Linked DNA regions of Homo sapiens: regions 2, 3, 4 and 5 are each linked to region 1. The links are contacts of gene promoters, found by promoter capture Hi-C in human tissues and cell types (Jung and others, 2019). All regions are on one chromosome and are shown on one strand. The core of a region is centred on a gene start or on the middle of the fragment in contact, and the rest is flanking DNA. Distances in the headings are between cores, read along the strand shown.

The links. The method cuts DNA at HindIII sites, captures the fragments that hold promoters and counts their contacts. A contact is called where the count stands out against the background at its distance.
Region 2: a contact is called between a fragment that was not itself captured here and the fragment with the promoter of PAFAH1B1 in region 1, in 3 of the 25 tissues and cell types used here (H1 embryonic stem cells, adrenal gland and dorsolateral prefrontal cortex).
Region 3: a fragment that was not itself captured here is called in contact with the fragment with the promoter of PAFAH1B1 in region 1 in 5 of the 25 tissues and cell types used here (IMR-90 fibroblasts, lymphoblastoid cells, mesendoderm cells and 2 more).
Region 4: a fragment that was not itself captured here is called in contact with the fragment with the promoter of PAFAH1B1 in region 1 in 1 of the 25 tissues and cell types used here (bladder).
Region 5: a contact is called between a fragment that was not itself captured here and the fragment with the promoter of PAFAH1B1 in region 1, in 1 of the 25 tissues and cell types used here (aorta).

What each region holds. Positions count from the first base shown.
Region 1 is chr17:2,592,117-2,595,224 of GRCh38, forward strand. It overlaps PAFAH1B1 (platelet activating factor acetylhydrolase 1b regulatory subunit 1), which reads left to right and starts at 1,538. Exons shown (of 11, transcript NM_000430.4): 1 at 1,538-1,890. RefSeq lists an enhancer at 744-1,472 and silencers at 1,307-1,526, 1,577-1,806, 2,217-2,276, 2,337-2,386. The HindIII fragment of the contact is 12,163 bases long and covers 1-3,108 here.
Region 2 is chr17:2,404,863-2,407,577 of GRCh38, forward strand. It overlaps LOC284009 (a long non-coding RNA gene), which reads right to left. Exons shown (of 3, transcript NR_028335.1): 3 at 2,119-2,368. Among named protein-coding and RNA genes, the nearest start is that of MNT, 5.2 kb to the left of the region's middle. The HindIII fragment of the contact is 5,447 bases long and covers 1-2,715 here.
Region 3 is chr17:2,359,063-2,361,766 of GRCh38, forward strand. It overlaps SGSM2 (small G protein signaling modulator 2), which reads left to right. Exons shown (of 24, transcript NM_014853.3): 3 at 2,575-2,704. Among named protein-coding and RNA genes, the nearest start is that of SGSM2, 23 kb to the left of the region's middle. The HindIII fragment of the contact is 3,883 bases long and covers 1-2,704 here.
Region 4 is chr17:2,752,959-2,756,031 of GRCh38, forward strand. It overlaps a transcript of RAP1GAP2 not described here. Among named protein-coding and RNA genes, the nearest start is that of CCDC92B, 4.8 kb to the left of the region's middle. RefSeq lists a silencer at 2,130-2,339. The HindIII fragment of the contact is 4,795 bases long and covers 1-3,073 here.
Region 5 is chr17:2,385,335-2,388,436 of GRCh38, forward strand. It overlaps MNT (MAX network transcriptional repressor), which reads right to left. Exons shown (of 6, transcript NM_020310.3): 5 at 2,523-2,715; 6 at 1-2,315. The coding sequence ends at 1,567. Among named protein-coding and RNA genes, the nearest start is that of MNT, 14 kb to the right of the region's middle. RefSeq lists enhancers at 649-1,473, 3,001-3,102. The HindIII fragment of the contact is 3,787 bases long and covers 1-3,102 here.

The sequences.
Region 1 (3,108 bases), core at 288-2,787:
TCTCTTTCGTTAACTCTGCTGCTTCTCAAATGCAGTATATATATATATATTTACCTACATAAAGTGACGCAATAAAATCAGTACACATAAGCTTAAGCCTGTTTCAAGAAAAAAGCTTCCTTGGACAATACAAATGAATGATAAGATAATCTCATTTAAACCTGTTATTAAAATAATAGCCCATATTGAATTATTCAGAACCCCAAATCTCGCTTTTTAAAAATCAAGGGTCGGCTGAGCACGGTGGCTCACGCCTGTAATCCCAGCACTTTGGGAGGCAGAGGCGGGCGGATCACGAGGTCAAGGGATCGAGACCATCCGGGCCAACATGATGAAACCCCGTCTCTACTAAAAATACCAAAAAAATTAGCCGGGCGTGGTGGTGGGCGCCTGTGGTCCCAGCTACTCGGGAGGCTGAGGCAGGAGAATGGCGTGAACCCGGGAGGCGGAGCCTGCAGTGAGTGGAGATTGCACCACTGCACTCCAGCCTGGGCGACAGAGCGAGACTCCATCTCAAAAACAAAAACAAAAACAAAAAACAAAAATTAGCTGGGCGTGGTGGCAAGTGCCTGTACTCCCAGCTACTCGGGAGGCTGATGCAGAGAATCGCTTGAACTCGGGAGGCGGAGGTTGCAGTGAGCCGAGATCGCGCCACTGCACTCCAGCCTGGGCGACACAGCGAGACTCCGTCTCAAAAAAAAAAAAAAAAAAAAAAGGAAAAGAAAAGAAAAATCATAGGTATCTGTGTGGAATAAATTAACTACAAATCCCCAAGACGACTCTTGTCATCAATATTTCAATCCATAATTTAGCAAACACACACAGACATCCCTTATAGGGATACAGTTCCAGGCCTTTCTTTGGGCATCCGTTTCGAGACCTGGAGAGACTCTGATGTCTGTGTGTGACTAAGGAGAAGAATAGCTGAATCATATCCAAAAGCGAGTCCTCCCAATTAAGAATCTATAATACAAATCAAGACAATGACAGCATTCCATCTGCCTTTTAACCTCAACAGCTCCTCCTCCCAAGCCAGCCAGCCTACTCCCCTCCCTCATTCCCCCCCAAACTGGGAAATCATCTCGGAGGCCGGAGGCAGAAAGGGGCGGTAGGTGGCCGGGCCCCGCTGCCTCTCGCGCCTCCCGGGGCCCGCCACACACGGTGCCAACGGGACGCCGCGGTCGGCCGCATGAGCGCAAAAGCAGGGCAGCGAGGTGAGCAGAGCCAGAGTTCAGAAGGGGCCGCAAGTCAGACGAGGGGCTGGGAAAAAAGAGCCTCTCCCAAGGTTAACAGAAGCGTGCGGAGCGTGAGAAGCAGCACCTCGCACGCAGACTCGCCCGCCGGCCGGGTGGCACCGCTCAGCCGCCCGCCCGCTAGAAGGCAGCGCGGCCCCGGCCCGGCCCAGCCCGGCGCATGCGCCGCAGCCCCTCCTCCGCTCCCGGCGCCCGCCCCTCCCTCTTCCTGGCGGGTCTGGGGCGGCGGCGGCGGCGGCGGCGGCGGCGCGGTGACGTCAGGGCGTTGGGGCAGCTCCTGTGACAGACGGAGCTGGAGCGGCGGGGCGGCGGCGGAGTCCGGCGGCCGGGAGAGCGAGTGAGCGAGCGGAGGAGCAGCGACACGGGAGTCTAGGGAGCGAGAAGGAGAAGGAGGGGAGCGCTCGGGCGCGAGCGAGAGAAACCGCGAGCGCCGAGCTTGGACTCGAGCCCCGGAACGGCTGAGGAGCCCGCCCGCTCCCCTCCCCTCCCCCTCCCCGGGCCCGGGCCCAGCGCGCCATCCTCCCCCCTCCTTCCCTCCCTCCCTCCTTCCTCCCTCCCCTCTCCCTCCCCCTCCCCCGCCGGTGGATGGGAGTGAAGGACGGAAGAGGCCCTGCGGAGGCGGCGGTGCAGCGCTCCGGTAAGGCGGCGCGGGTCTGCGCCCTCCCCTCTGTCTCCTCCACCGCGCCCGGGCGGCTGCAGGCCGGACCCGGCGGCCTGACGATGTGGCTGCGCCGGTCCCCTCCCTCCCATTCTCCCCTCCCCCTGCCTCCGCCGCCGCCTCCTCCTTCTTCTTCTCTCCTCGCTCTCAAAATGGCGGCCGCGACGGCCGTTGAGTGAGAGACCCGGAGGAGGGGGACTGTCCGGGGAGGGCGCTGCCCTCGCTCCTCTCCTCCCGGGCCCGGCTTTGGGGGCTGCCGGCGCCTCTGCGACCCCCGCCCCGCGGCCCTCCCCAAGAAGGGATCGCCCTCCTCCCTCGGTGACTTAGCAAGAAAAGTATTCTTGGGTTGGAAGGGCGTGGGGACCAGGTAGCTCTCTGATCTTGGGGAAAAGGATCGGCCCTGCTCTCCCCGGCCGCGGAGACGAGCACCGCAGTCCCCACCCCACCCTCAGTTATCGGCTCGGGGACCGGCTCAGCCCCGCGCCGCCGGGGCACTCATAGGGCCTTCCAGGCATTCCGTCCCCGACTGGTCCTTAAGATGGGGTTGACCAGCGGAGGGTGGCCCACCGTCTCCCTGGCCCCCGGTGCGGCGGTCCAGCCTCAGCACCCGCCGAGGAGAGGCAGCCCGGCCCACCGAGCAATCCGCAGCATCCACCCACCGAATCTGGCAGGATTTTCTTTCTGCCACCGGCTCCTCGGTCGGGAGTTGCCTTTTGATGCTGTTAACATTCAGCTTCGAGGCTCCCTGCCATTCCCCTTCGTCTAATCTCATCTCCCTGCCCCTTTGGGAAACGCAGTGCCTCTGCATATTTACCCTCTTTAGCCTCCCACATGAGAAAATGCCTTTGAGGTGGTCGACACATTTTGACTCTGCACCTCTAAACGTAGCAGTAGAGGGGAAGAGGTTTTCCGTATTTAGTAGGAGAGAGCAAGGTACCATAGCTTTATATGTTATGCTACCTTTCTTCAGTGACTTAGCAAGAAACTCCTTGGGAAGAGGGCAGGAAATTTTCTTTTGGGGTTTGGGCCCAATTTATATCAGTCTTTTGGTTAAGAAAATACGCCTTTGAAGAGGAGGACCAGATTTGTGGTCTCGTTCTCAATGGGCGATGTCATGCCAAGGTCCCCCCTCCCTCTTTCCTTAAGTGGCAGTCCGGACAAATAGAGATATTACTGATATTCCCATCTCTCCTTTAA
Region 2 (2,715 bases), core at 148-2,647, 190 kb before region 1:
ACCACCACGCCCGGCTAATTTTTGTATTTTTAGTAGAGACGGGGTTTCACCATGTTGGCCAGGCTGGTCTCAAACTCCTGACCTCAAGTGATCTGCCTGTCTTGGCCTCCCAAAGGGCTGGGATGACAGGCGTGAGCCACCGCGCCCGGCTGTTCCTTAAGTTTCTTCATGGCTTCTGGGTGCTTAGTACCTTGGAGCAGGAGAAAAGCTGGGCTGTCCATCATTGTGAGTTTCTCACGAGAGGGTTTCCGTTTTCAGTCTTCCTCCCCGAGTCTTGTGCACCCCACCTCCCAGTTCAAATTCCATTATGTCCTCCAATTTTTTAATCTTTTATTCTTTTTTTCACCAACCACAATAAGAAGCACCAATTCCCCAATTTTTTAATATGCTGAGCCAGAGACATCCCCTTAGTGGAACTGTCTTCCTATCCCCCACCACTCACCTAACAAAGTATCAACTCCAAGAGCTATGAAAATCAGTGCCCTGACTCCTACAAAGCCTGAGTCATGAGATGGGGGAAAGGGCGTGAAGCCGAAAGTACAGATGTTCACAGGAAATCCCAACCCTTCAAGCCTGATGTCTCATCTTTTGCAAGCAGCTAAGGAGCTTTTCACATACCATCATTAAAACAAGACCCATGGGAGGAAGCTGGCTGCAGGATGAAGAGGAAAAAACAGAAGACTAGTACACTCAAGACATACCAGAGAAGATCCATTTCATAAATATTTATTGTGTGCCTGAGGTGCCAAGCACTAGGCTAGGTATGCTGTGGCCAAGGCCAGGGGACCTCTGGTAAGCCAGAGCGGGGCAAAAGCAAACAGAGCGGAACTCCACTCCACTGTGATAACTTGCAAAAGATTAGTTCTGCTGTTCGCCACCGTGCTGGATGCAGCACCAGAGACAGGACGACACGAGGACCCAGAGGGCGCCGCCATGCTCATTTCAGAAGGTGCAGCCTCCGTGTCCGTGGGTCCGCACCCATGGAGGCAACTAACCGTGGATCAAAAATATTCAGGAAAAAAAAATGGAAAATATACAAGAAAAAATAATACAAATTTAAAAACCAACACAGCACAAGAACTATTTACACAGCATTTACATGGTATGAGGTATTTGAGTAGCGCAGAGATGAGTTAAAGGATACCTGAGGATGTGCATAGGTTACATGTAAGGGATTTGAGCATCATCCATGGACAGGTATTCAGGGAGGCTCCAGGAACCAATCCCCATTGGACAGTGAGAAGCAACTGTAATTCCGTTTTTCTATGTAGAGATAAAAACAAATTCAGTGGATTTAAGGCTGGGCCAGTCAACTGAGCCTGATTCCCCCAGTCTGAATGATGAGTGGGACTCTGAATTCCTTTGACAGAGGTGGACCCATTCAATCATCAGTGAAATGGGGTCCCCACAGCCAAAAGTTTCCACAGGACTCTTTACCTCCTTTCCCCACCCCAAGTGAGTTGTCAGAGGACCTCTCCTGAACTCACAGAACAGGTCCAATCAAGTTCCACCTCCCCATTCATGTCCTTTCCAGAAGCTGGGCGCGGTGGCTCACGCCCTAAGTTCCAGCTACGTGGGAGGCTGAGACAGGAGAATCGCCTGAGCCCAGGATTTCAAGGCCAGCCTGGGCAACATAGCAAGATACTGTCTCAAAAAAAAAAAAAAAAAAATTGCAGCCTCACATGATGTCATAGCTGGAAGAGCTGGGATCATGGGGTCTGACCTCCCAAGAGAAGGTGTATCCAAGGTCACAAAGCTGCCAAGCATCAGCTAGGTTGAGAAGTGGCCTGGTCCTCCTCTTTGGCTGGCTGGGCCAGGCCTGGGGAAGTGCTATCAGTGTGGGGTGTTGAGTCCCTGAAAGCCTCCCAGAAGTGGGTGAAGATGGAGAGGGAACTCCACCCCTCCTCGTTAAAGACAGGAATAATCATTCACTTTGCTTAGTGGTCCCCAATAAACAAGCTTAGCAGATAAGCGGGAAGACAGGGAAAGGGAATCAGACTTGGGATCCAGGAGCTCGCAGGACCCTGTTCTGCCCCAGGCCACTCAGGAATGGAGAGCTGCTAGCTGGACCTGGGTAGGTCACCATTACTCACTGGGGCTTTTGTCTGGCATGAAAGGTGACGGGAGAAAGGGGCAGATTTTTATCCAGGCAGCCACCGTGGGTGTGGACACTGAGTAATAAGGAAAGAAATGCAGTTCAGAAGCAAAGAGGGAGGAGCCAGGTCCTCTGAGCTCTTCTGAGAAACCAGAGCCCAGTCGAGCTCTGCAGCTAGAGTGGCAGCTGCGGATGACAGTGGGTCAGAAGCTTGGTGGGAGGAGGCTGACCCAGCGGAAAGGCACAGGAGACGGATGACGATGTCAGGGATTCCTTTAAAGGAAAAAAGAGGTGGCTTTATGACAGCAAAACTAATTCAGGTCAAGGGAGTGGGACTGGGCAGAAGTTATGAGTAAAGCCGGGTGGAGTCTTGCCATGGGAGTCAAGAGTCCGCTGGATCACGCAGGGGTGGGGACATGGTGATAGGGAAGAAACCTCCCAGGACCGACGGGCTGCAATGTGATCAGTGCCCCACACAAAGGACTAAGGTCTATATCCCAGCAGCCCCAGTTCACACCCAAATGCAAGGCTGTAGCATCAAGTCTTGAAAGCCCAAGAGATCAGCAGCCTATGCCAGGAATGAGGCTCTCTCTGGAGGCAAGGCCGAGAGCAGTGGCCGG
Region 3 (2,704 bases), core at 21-2,520, 230 kb before region 1:
GAGATGGGATTTCACCGTGTTAGCCAGGATGGTCTCAATCTCCTGACCTCATGATCCGCCTGCCTCGGCCTCCCAAAGTGCTGGGATTACAGGCGTGAGCCACGGCGCCCAGACCCAGGGAGGGAGTTTTTGGAGCCCCAGAAGCCCATTCACAAAGTCCTCTCGGGGCCATAGTTCTCAAGTAGTGGTGTCACTATTATTATTTTGTCTGCACACTGCACGCGATAACATATTCATCACACGTGCACACTCTCGGTGGGGAACACCTTGTGGGCATGGCATAGGACAAGTGCAGTGTGAACAGTTACTGGCCGGGAGCCCACAGAGCTGAGTCAGTAATGCCTGGCCTAATGGCCTAACTGGTCTTAGCTTGGAAAGTCGATGCATGAGAGGGATTTCTCCTTCCCCAGACACTGCCTGGCACCTTGCCTGGGTTGCACAGAAGGAAATTAGGGACCGTGGGGTAAAGGGGGGACTGAGCGTGATGCCTGGCTTCTCTCAGTATTCCTTAGTTGCAGTAATTGCTTAGGAATGCCTCCTCTCACCCGAGAGAACCCCATGGCTGTGCTCAGAGGCTGGCCGGGAAGGTAGGCGAGGCCACCCCGATGGGAGTGCTGGGGCCGGCCACTCCCCAGTCCCCACGGCCTGGCTGCTTTTGCGGTCGCCTAGGGAAGGTGGGGAAGCGAATGACTCATTATCCCGGCAATTAATCACACCACTGAGGCATGTGATCCGTGCAGGACATGTGCCACCTGCTGCCCCTCTGTCCTGTTCAGTGCTGCTTCTCTCCCCACTCTGAATGGGAAGTGCAACCCCAGGAAATGATCACCCCCTTTCCACAGGCACGGAATTGTAGCTGCAGCAGCCCAGGACCAAGAGACTGGGACAAAAGGGTCATTCGCCTGTATATCCCAGGGCCACACAAGACCTCCAGGGACCAGGGGGAATGATCATGGAGAGGAGCATGTGGACGCTTAAGCCAAAGATTTCCCCATGTGGGCCGGGCGCGGTGCCTCACGCCTGTAATCCCAGCACTTTGAGAGGCCGAGGCGGGCGGATCACTTGAGGTCAGGAGTTCGAGACCAGCCTGGCCAACGTGGCGAAACCCCGTCTCTACTAAAATACAAAAATTAGCTGGGCATGGTGGTGTGTGCCTGTAGTCTCAGCTACTCGGGAGGCTGAGGCGGGAGAATCACCTGAACCACAGAGGTCAGCTCTCAGCTGCTGTGAGCTGAGATTCCACGATTGCACTCCAGCCTGGGCATCAGAGTGGGTCCCTGTCTCAAAAATAAAAATAAAAAAACCTTGACAGACCTCAATTTCCCTGTCTCCACCCACTTCTGGGGCAGCCTTGGATCGTCTCTCCAGTGCACCCTCTTCCTGTCCCTGTCGGGGAGAGGTCCTGCTGAAAGCCAGCTCTTAGAGGCTAGCTGTAGAACTGTATCTGAACCAACAGGGTGAGGAGTCAGGAACTGACCTAGACCCAGCACCTCCTGAGAGCCAGACCCCGCATGGGTGATTTCACATCCTCCGTCTCATGTGACATCTCACACTAGCCCTCTTCCCATTTCACAGAGGATACAACTGAGTCTCAGAGCAAGTGACCGTGCCAAGCTCAGACTTTGTTCTGTCTGACTGTCTCCAGCACAGCTCACTGTTTCCAGTCCGTGTGAAAAAACCACCTCCTTCTCCCCTCAGTGTCCCTGCCCCCAACCAGACACACCTGGACGTGGCAAAAGGGGCTCGGGCCGAGGCTTGGAGCCCTGGGTCCTCATCCTGGTGGCTCTGCCATGTTGTGACTGTGATCGAGTTTCTTCCCCTCTTTGGGCCTTTCCCTCCTCACCTGTAAAACTGTTAGTTTGGCCCAATCATGTAGAAGCTTCTCCGCCCCACACACATACACACTCCTGTCTTTAGAGTCTGTCTGGGCACAGGGCAGCTCCCTACTGTCTCCTACCAAGCCCTTCTTTTCTTCCTGCAGGGTCTGTCTGTGGAAAGTCCAGACAGAGACTAAGCCTAACCCTAAACCATGAATGAATGGAGGGAAGCCCTCCTAGCATGGAAAAGAGAAATCTCTCCCTCAGCTGCTGGGCTCATCAGTCCAGCGGCCACTGTCGGGTCCAAGCTCTGCAGTGACTTCATCAATATTTTAGCTCCTGCAGAGCCCTGTTCCTTAGCAACCGCATCCTCCGTGCCCTCCAGAAAGGCTCCCGAGTCGGGTGTTCCTCACATCCCCGTCCTGTAGGTGCTGTGCCTTGCTGTCAGGTTTGGAGCCACTCATGCCACCCTGAATGGGGAGCTTTGGTCCTCATGACCCCCAGGGGTGAGGCTGCATATAGGAGGTGTGTGCGCACCAGGCGAGGGAGAGGGACAGCTTGGCATGTCAAAGCTCTTCGCCCCGGGCAGGAGCCGAGGGACGGGGAGGGGAATTTTGGAAGGAAGCCAGGGTATCTCCCTGGCCTGCCCTTGGCTTGCCCTTACCCCTTGCCTCACCACAGGTATGGGGAAGAGGAGCTTTTCTTCCTGCTCCCCCGTCTTTCCCAGGCTCAGATGCCGTTTCCCTTTGTGGCCTAGGTGCAGTGGAGGCTTGCCTCTTGCATCAGCTGAGACGCCGTGCCGCTGGCTTCCTGCGCAGTGACAAGATGGCAGCCCTGTTCACCAAGGTGGGGAAGACGTGCCCAGTGGCGGGGGAGATTTGCCACAA
Region 4 (3,073 bases), core at 558-3,057, 160 kb after region 1:
GAGCCACTGCGCCCAGCTCTCTTTTCTTTTCTTTTTATTTTTGAGACAGGGTCTCAGTCTGTTGTCCAGGACGGAGTGCAGTCGTGCAAACACAGCTCACTGCAGCCTCCACCTCCTGAGCTCAGGTCCTCCCACCGCAGCCTCCCAAGTAGCTGGGCTCCAGGCGTGTGCCACCATGCCTGGCTAATTTTTGTAGTTTTTTGTAGAGATGGGGTTTCACCCTGTTGCCCAGGCTGATCTTGAACTCCTGGGCTCAAGTGATCTACCTGCCTTGGCCTCCCAAAGTGCTGAGATGACAGCGCTTTGCTGGGATTAGCCACGGTGCCACACCCTGGCTCCATTTCCAAAATTAAACTTGTAACAAAGTAAAAGAAAACTAAAGTTTAGAAAAAGTGTACCTCTTGCTTCCGAAGCCACGATTACTTTGAGTTGAGCACTTTACCAATGGGATCTCATTTAAACTTCAGATAAATCGTATTGGAAAGGTTTATTCCCATTTTCAGATGGAGAGAATGAGGTTGAATTTAACATCACACAGCTTGGAAATGGCAGAGCCAGGATTCAAACTCCAGCCCAGCCTGGCCCAGAGACAAGCTTGTAACCACAGCATCCTCACGCCTGCCAGAGAGAACATGAGTCCAGCTGTGGCAGCCACAGTGGTCATAGCTTAAAGGGAAGGTAAGGGCCAAAGTGTGCAAGGCCTGGAATGCCAGCTAGAGGAATGAGGCCTGGGTGGCAGAGAAGGCCTAGAGTCTCCTCCATCTCTTCATGACAGTCAGAAATTCTGACTTTCTCAGTTTAGTTTGGGTAACAGTTCTGTATTGGTTAGCATCCTGGCAGGGAACAGATGGCACATTTAAAATGGACAATTTGGCTGGGCCCGGTGGCTCTCACCTGTAATCCCAGCACTTTGGGAGGCCAAGGTGGGCAGATCACTTGCGGTCAGGAGTTTGAGACCAGCCTGGCCAACATGACGAAATCTCGTCTCTACTAAAAATACAAAAATTAGCCAGGTGTGGTGGTGGGTGCTTGTAATCCCAGCTACTCGGGAGGCTGAGGCAGGAGAATCGCTTGAATCCAGGAGGTGGAGGCTAATTTTTGTATTTTTTAGTAGAGATGGGGTTTTACCATATTGGCCAGGATGGTCTCGATCTCCTGACCTCGTGATCTGCCCGCCTCGGCCTCCCAAAGTGCTAGGATTACAGGCGTGAGCCACCGCGCCCGGCCGTATATATATATACCACATTTTGTTTATCCATTCATCCATCAGTGAACATTTAGGTTGCTTCCACCTGTTGGCTATTGTGAATAATGCTGCCATGAACACGGGGCACACTTTCTTTTCTTTTCTTTTTTTTTTCTTGAGACGGAGTCTCGCACTGTCGCCCAGGCTGGAGTGCAGTGGCGCGATCTCGGCTCGCTGCAAGCTCTGCCCTCTGCCTCCCAGGTTCACGCCATTCTCCTGCCTCAGCCTTCCGAGTAGCTGGGACTACAGGCGCCCGCCACCACGCACGGCTAATTTTTTGTATTTTTAGTAGAGAGGGGGTTTCACCATGTTGGCCAGGATGGTCTCCATCTCCTGACCTCGTGATCCACCTGCCTCGGCCTCCCAAAGTGCTGGGATTACAGGCATGAGCCACCACGCATGGGGCACACATTTTTTAAACCAGTTTGACATTTGACATATATATATATATATATTTTATATATATATTTAGAGACCGGGTCTTGCTATGTTGCCCAGGCTGGAGTGGCAGCGGCTATTCCCAGGTATGTTTATAGCACTCAACAGACTTGAACTCCTGGCTCAAGTGATCCTCCTGCCTCAGACTCCTAAGTAGCTGGGACTACAGGCATATACCACCACACCTGGCTGACATTAGCCTTTTAATTTTGCTTATTGTGTTTTTGTGATGTGCAGATATTAAACATTTTTATTTTAGCCAAATCCATTAATCTCTTCCTTTATGGCTTCTGCCACTGATGTCATGCTAAAAAAAAAAAACCTATCCTCACTTTAATATAATGACAATACTTATCCACGTTTTTTTCTTTTCTTTCTTTTTTTTTTTTTTTTTTTTTTTTTGAGACAGTCTTGCCCTGTTGCCCAGGCTGGAGTGCAATGGCGCGACCTCTGCTCACTGCAACCTCCGCCTCCCCGGTTCAAGCGATTCTCCTGCCTCAGCCTCCCGAGTAGCTGGGATTACAGGCAGGCGCCACCACGCCCCGCTAAGTTTTCTATTTTTAGTAGAGACGGGGTTTCACCATGTTGGCCAGGTTGGTCTCGATCGTCTTGACCTCGTGATCCGCCCACCTCCGCCTCCCAAAGCGCTGGGATTACAGGCGTGAGCCACCGCGCCCGGCCGAGTAGTTTACTTCTTTAGGCATCACTTCCTGGGTAGAACGGGTTTCCTAAGGGAGTAAGGCACAGAACGAGGCAATGGGCCGCCTGGTCTCTCCGCGCGTCAGTAGGACTCGGGGAACCAGACTCCGCCCAGTGCTCCCCAGAAACCCGGCTCCTCGGCGCGGCGGGGAGAGACCCGGACGGGGAGAGGCCGCTGTCCCGCCCGTTCTGCGGGGCCGGCGCTGACCCGGCTCCAGCCGCCTCCAGGGGCGGGGTCTGAGCGCCGCGCCCTCCCCGCGCCCTCCCCGCGCCCTCCCCGCGCCCTCCCCGCGAGCGCGCCCCGGACACCCGCCTGCGGCAGCCGAGCCTCCTCCACCGTGCGGCCCGCGGAGGGCAGGGAGCGGCCGGGCGAGGCATGGCGGGCCGCCGGGCGCCGGGGGAGAAGCGCTGGCAGCTGGTGCGCTGGTGAGTGGGCGCCGGGCGGCGCGGGGCCTAATGCGGGAGCGAACCCCGAGGCCCGGCCGGCGCGGGAAGCAGCGGGGCGCGGGCCCAAAGTTTCGTCCCGGGCTGAGGCTGCGGGGCCCGGGTGGGCGGAGGGGCGCCGGCTGCCTGGTCCCCACCACCCCCTCCGGTCCCCACCACCCCGCGTCCCCGCGCCGGGTCTCTGCGGCTCTCCAAAGAGATGGGCGACGGGGACCCTGTGCGAGCCGTCAGGCTTTGGGGGAACCC
Region 5 (3,102 bases), core at 353-2,852, 210 kb before region 1:
TCGCCGGCCCAGGCCCCTGCCCCAGCCCATCAGTGTGAGCTTCACATCCAGGGACACCGGCTTCCTCCCGCTACACTGAAAGGCCACTGGTGAGTGTGTGTCCAGGTGGGGAGCCGAGCGTGTCTGACACAAAGCCACTTGTAATAAACACCCACATACAAGGAAAGGCCAAAGCAGGCTGCCCAGAGGCAGAGAAAGCCGCATCCTAACACAGAGCCCCTGACTCCTCCCCCTTCCACGCTCAGCCCTGTCCTTGACCCAACCAAGGACCTCTTCTCAGAGAAAGGTGCTGCTGCTCTGCAGCTCCCCGGGCAGGGCCCACTCAAAAGCGTCCCCGGGAGAAGCAGGGTGTTGAGGGGATGGGAGGACAGAGGCAAAGGGGCTGGAGCAGAAGCAGCAGCCCTAGCTCTGGCCCTCTGTTCTGTATAGGTCCCAGGGTTGGTCTGGGGACAGGCTTAGGGCTTGGCTAAGCCGCTGGGTTTTTACCTTCCTGATGTCTCAACGATGTGGCTTCTATGCTCCTGGAAACAAGACCAGATGCTGGTCCATGTCTCCCAAACTGCAGGAGGCACCCAAACCCACAGGCCGCCAGGCCCACCTGTCCCTTGGAGCAGTGCCCAGCACTCAGCAGAGGTCAGAGATCAGGGGCTGAACGCAGGACAGCGCCCCTCTTTGCTGCCTTCTGGAAGCCAAGAGCCAAGCCCAGGGCTGGGGACTGGGGACTGGGGACAGGGGCCCAGTGGCTCTCCTCCCATCCAGACCCAGGCTGCAGGGGACGGGGAAGGGGAAGGACAGCCAAGTCCCTCCTTCCCCACCTCAGCCTGCCCTCCTGAGGTCCAGAGCCCAGTGGCAGGGATTGGGGTGAGGGCACAGGAAGCTTGGCAGTGGCTGGGTTTGGTTTATTGTTGGTAGAGAATCATTTTAAGTAGTATCTACGGTAACGAATCACAGTGACTGCAACCGGGTCAGAGAGCCCCAGGCTGAGGCCCCACCTGTCCGGGTGGGACTCCAGACCAGCCACTTCCTATGATCTGTCACCTGTGCTCAGAGCAAGGCCCCTTATCACCCCAATCCGCAGCTTTCTGGGCCAAGTGGCTTCAGTTCTGCTTTCCCCATTTCCCCTCCAAAGGCCTGGGAAGAGAACATGAGGCTCCGGAGGAAAGCCGGGGGCCTGGGCCACCTCACCAGACAGCAATAGCAGCAGCAGCACACGAAGGCGGGGCAGGGCGGGGGAGAAGTCAGGGAGCGTGACGTCCACATCGCACTGATTTCCGAGGGTAGGGAGGGGAAGCAGGAGCGGCACTGGAGCTGGCACTGGGCCGGACAGGTGGCACATTCCATCAGAGTCTCGCATTTTCTCAGAGTCATCTTACCAAGTCCTAGTGCAGCAGGGTGGCCCTTCCCTCCCTTGGCTCAGAGTCTTTGCACCCCCTTCCCCTAGGAGGCCTGGGGGTGGGTGGGGGGGCTGGCCTGGGCCTGGCTGGAATGTGTGGAGCTGGTGGGTGAGAGAGTGGGGGACAGGTCCCCCTCCCTGTCCCCACTGGGGGCCTCTGAGTGGCCTCGTCCTCAAGCCAGCTTGAGTGTGCTGACTGGGAAGGAGGGCATGGTGACCATGGTCACAGGGTTGAGCACGGTCTGGCCCACCAGCTGGGGGTGGTGCACCACCTGAGCCCCCACGGCCGGCTTTGCCATGACAGTAGCCGGGGGCCCCAGGCCGGCCGTGCCGTTGACTTGCTGGTGCGAGAGGGTGTGGGCGATGTGGCTCACTGCCACGGGCTGCGGGTACAAGGGCAGCTGGGAGCCCAGGTGGGCCACATGGTTGAGGGTGGCAGGGTGCACAGTGATGTGCCCAATGGGGGGTGTGGCAGGCGCCAGTTGCACCGCAGGGCTGGGGGCCGAGGGGGCGATGTGGGCGATGTGCTTGCCGCCTGGCCCCTGCAGAACGTGGTTCACAGTCTGGATGACTGAAGCGTGAGTGGTGGCTGTGTGGGCGATGACCGTGGAGCCACCCCCAGCCGTCGCCACCAGATGGGCTGGAGCTGGCACCAGTGTCTGGGCAGGGGCAGCCGGTGGGGGAGGAGGGGCTGGCAGAGGGGTCTTCTGCTGTGGCTGCTGCTGCTGCACGGGGAGGTGGGCAGGAGGTAGGGCCACGGAGTGGGGGTGAGGGTGTGGGTGTGGAGGCAGAGGCGCAGGGGTGGTGCTGGGGGGTGGCAGGGTGGACTTCAGCAGCTCCGGCTGGGGACGATGGCTCAGCTTAGGTGGGCCCAGGCCCGCCCGGTCCTCCTCCATATCCTCGTCTATGTTGTCCTCACCCTCTGTGGGGAACATGGGGCAGGGAGCAGGTCAGAAGGGCGGGGAAGCAAGTGGCTGGAGGCGTAGATGCTCGTGGGGGCGTGGGAATGTGATGGGGCTGGGGCCAGGGCCATCTTTTCTAGCAGGCAAGAAAGAGCCTGGCCAGGGAGGCTGGAATTTGAGGTGTAACATCTGAGGGCTGGGGGGCCAGCGTGGGGGCTGGGGCTCACCAGAGGCGGTGGAGGTGGAGGCCTGGTCATCCTCGGGCTGGCCCGTCTGCCGCAGCACGCGGTCAATCTCCAGTACGTCCATCCACTGGCTCAGCTCGTGCTTGAGCTCTGCCAGCCGCTGCTGCGTGGCAATCTTCTCACGTGCCAGCCGCTCCATTTCATGCTCATATTCCTTCTCCTTCCTCTTCAGGGACTGGCACACAGAGTAAGGGACAGCAGGACACCCTGAGCAGCAGCCTTGGGGCCCAAAGCCCCCACAAACCTCTCCCTATCAGCTGGCCCACAGAGGCAAGTCCGTGGCAACCAGCGGGCCCAGCCTGACGGGGGCTGCTGGAGACCGCACCTGTTGTGGTCCATGCCCCTGCCCAGTGAGGCCCAGCGTCCCAAGGAGTGTGGGCTCTTGGGACAGGCACCACTGAAGCAAGCTCAACCAGGTGTGCAGGTCCTTCCCTGTCCTCCACAATTCATCCTCAGGGGCTTCTCCGCCTCTCGCCCCATCCCTCCTCCAGCAGCCTCTTCACTTTGCACACTTCTGCCGCGAGCTACCCTCTAAGGAACCTGATCCTGCGCTTCCACCTCA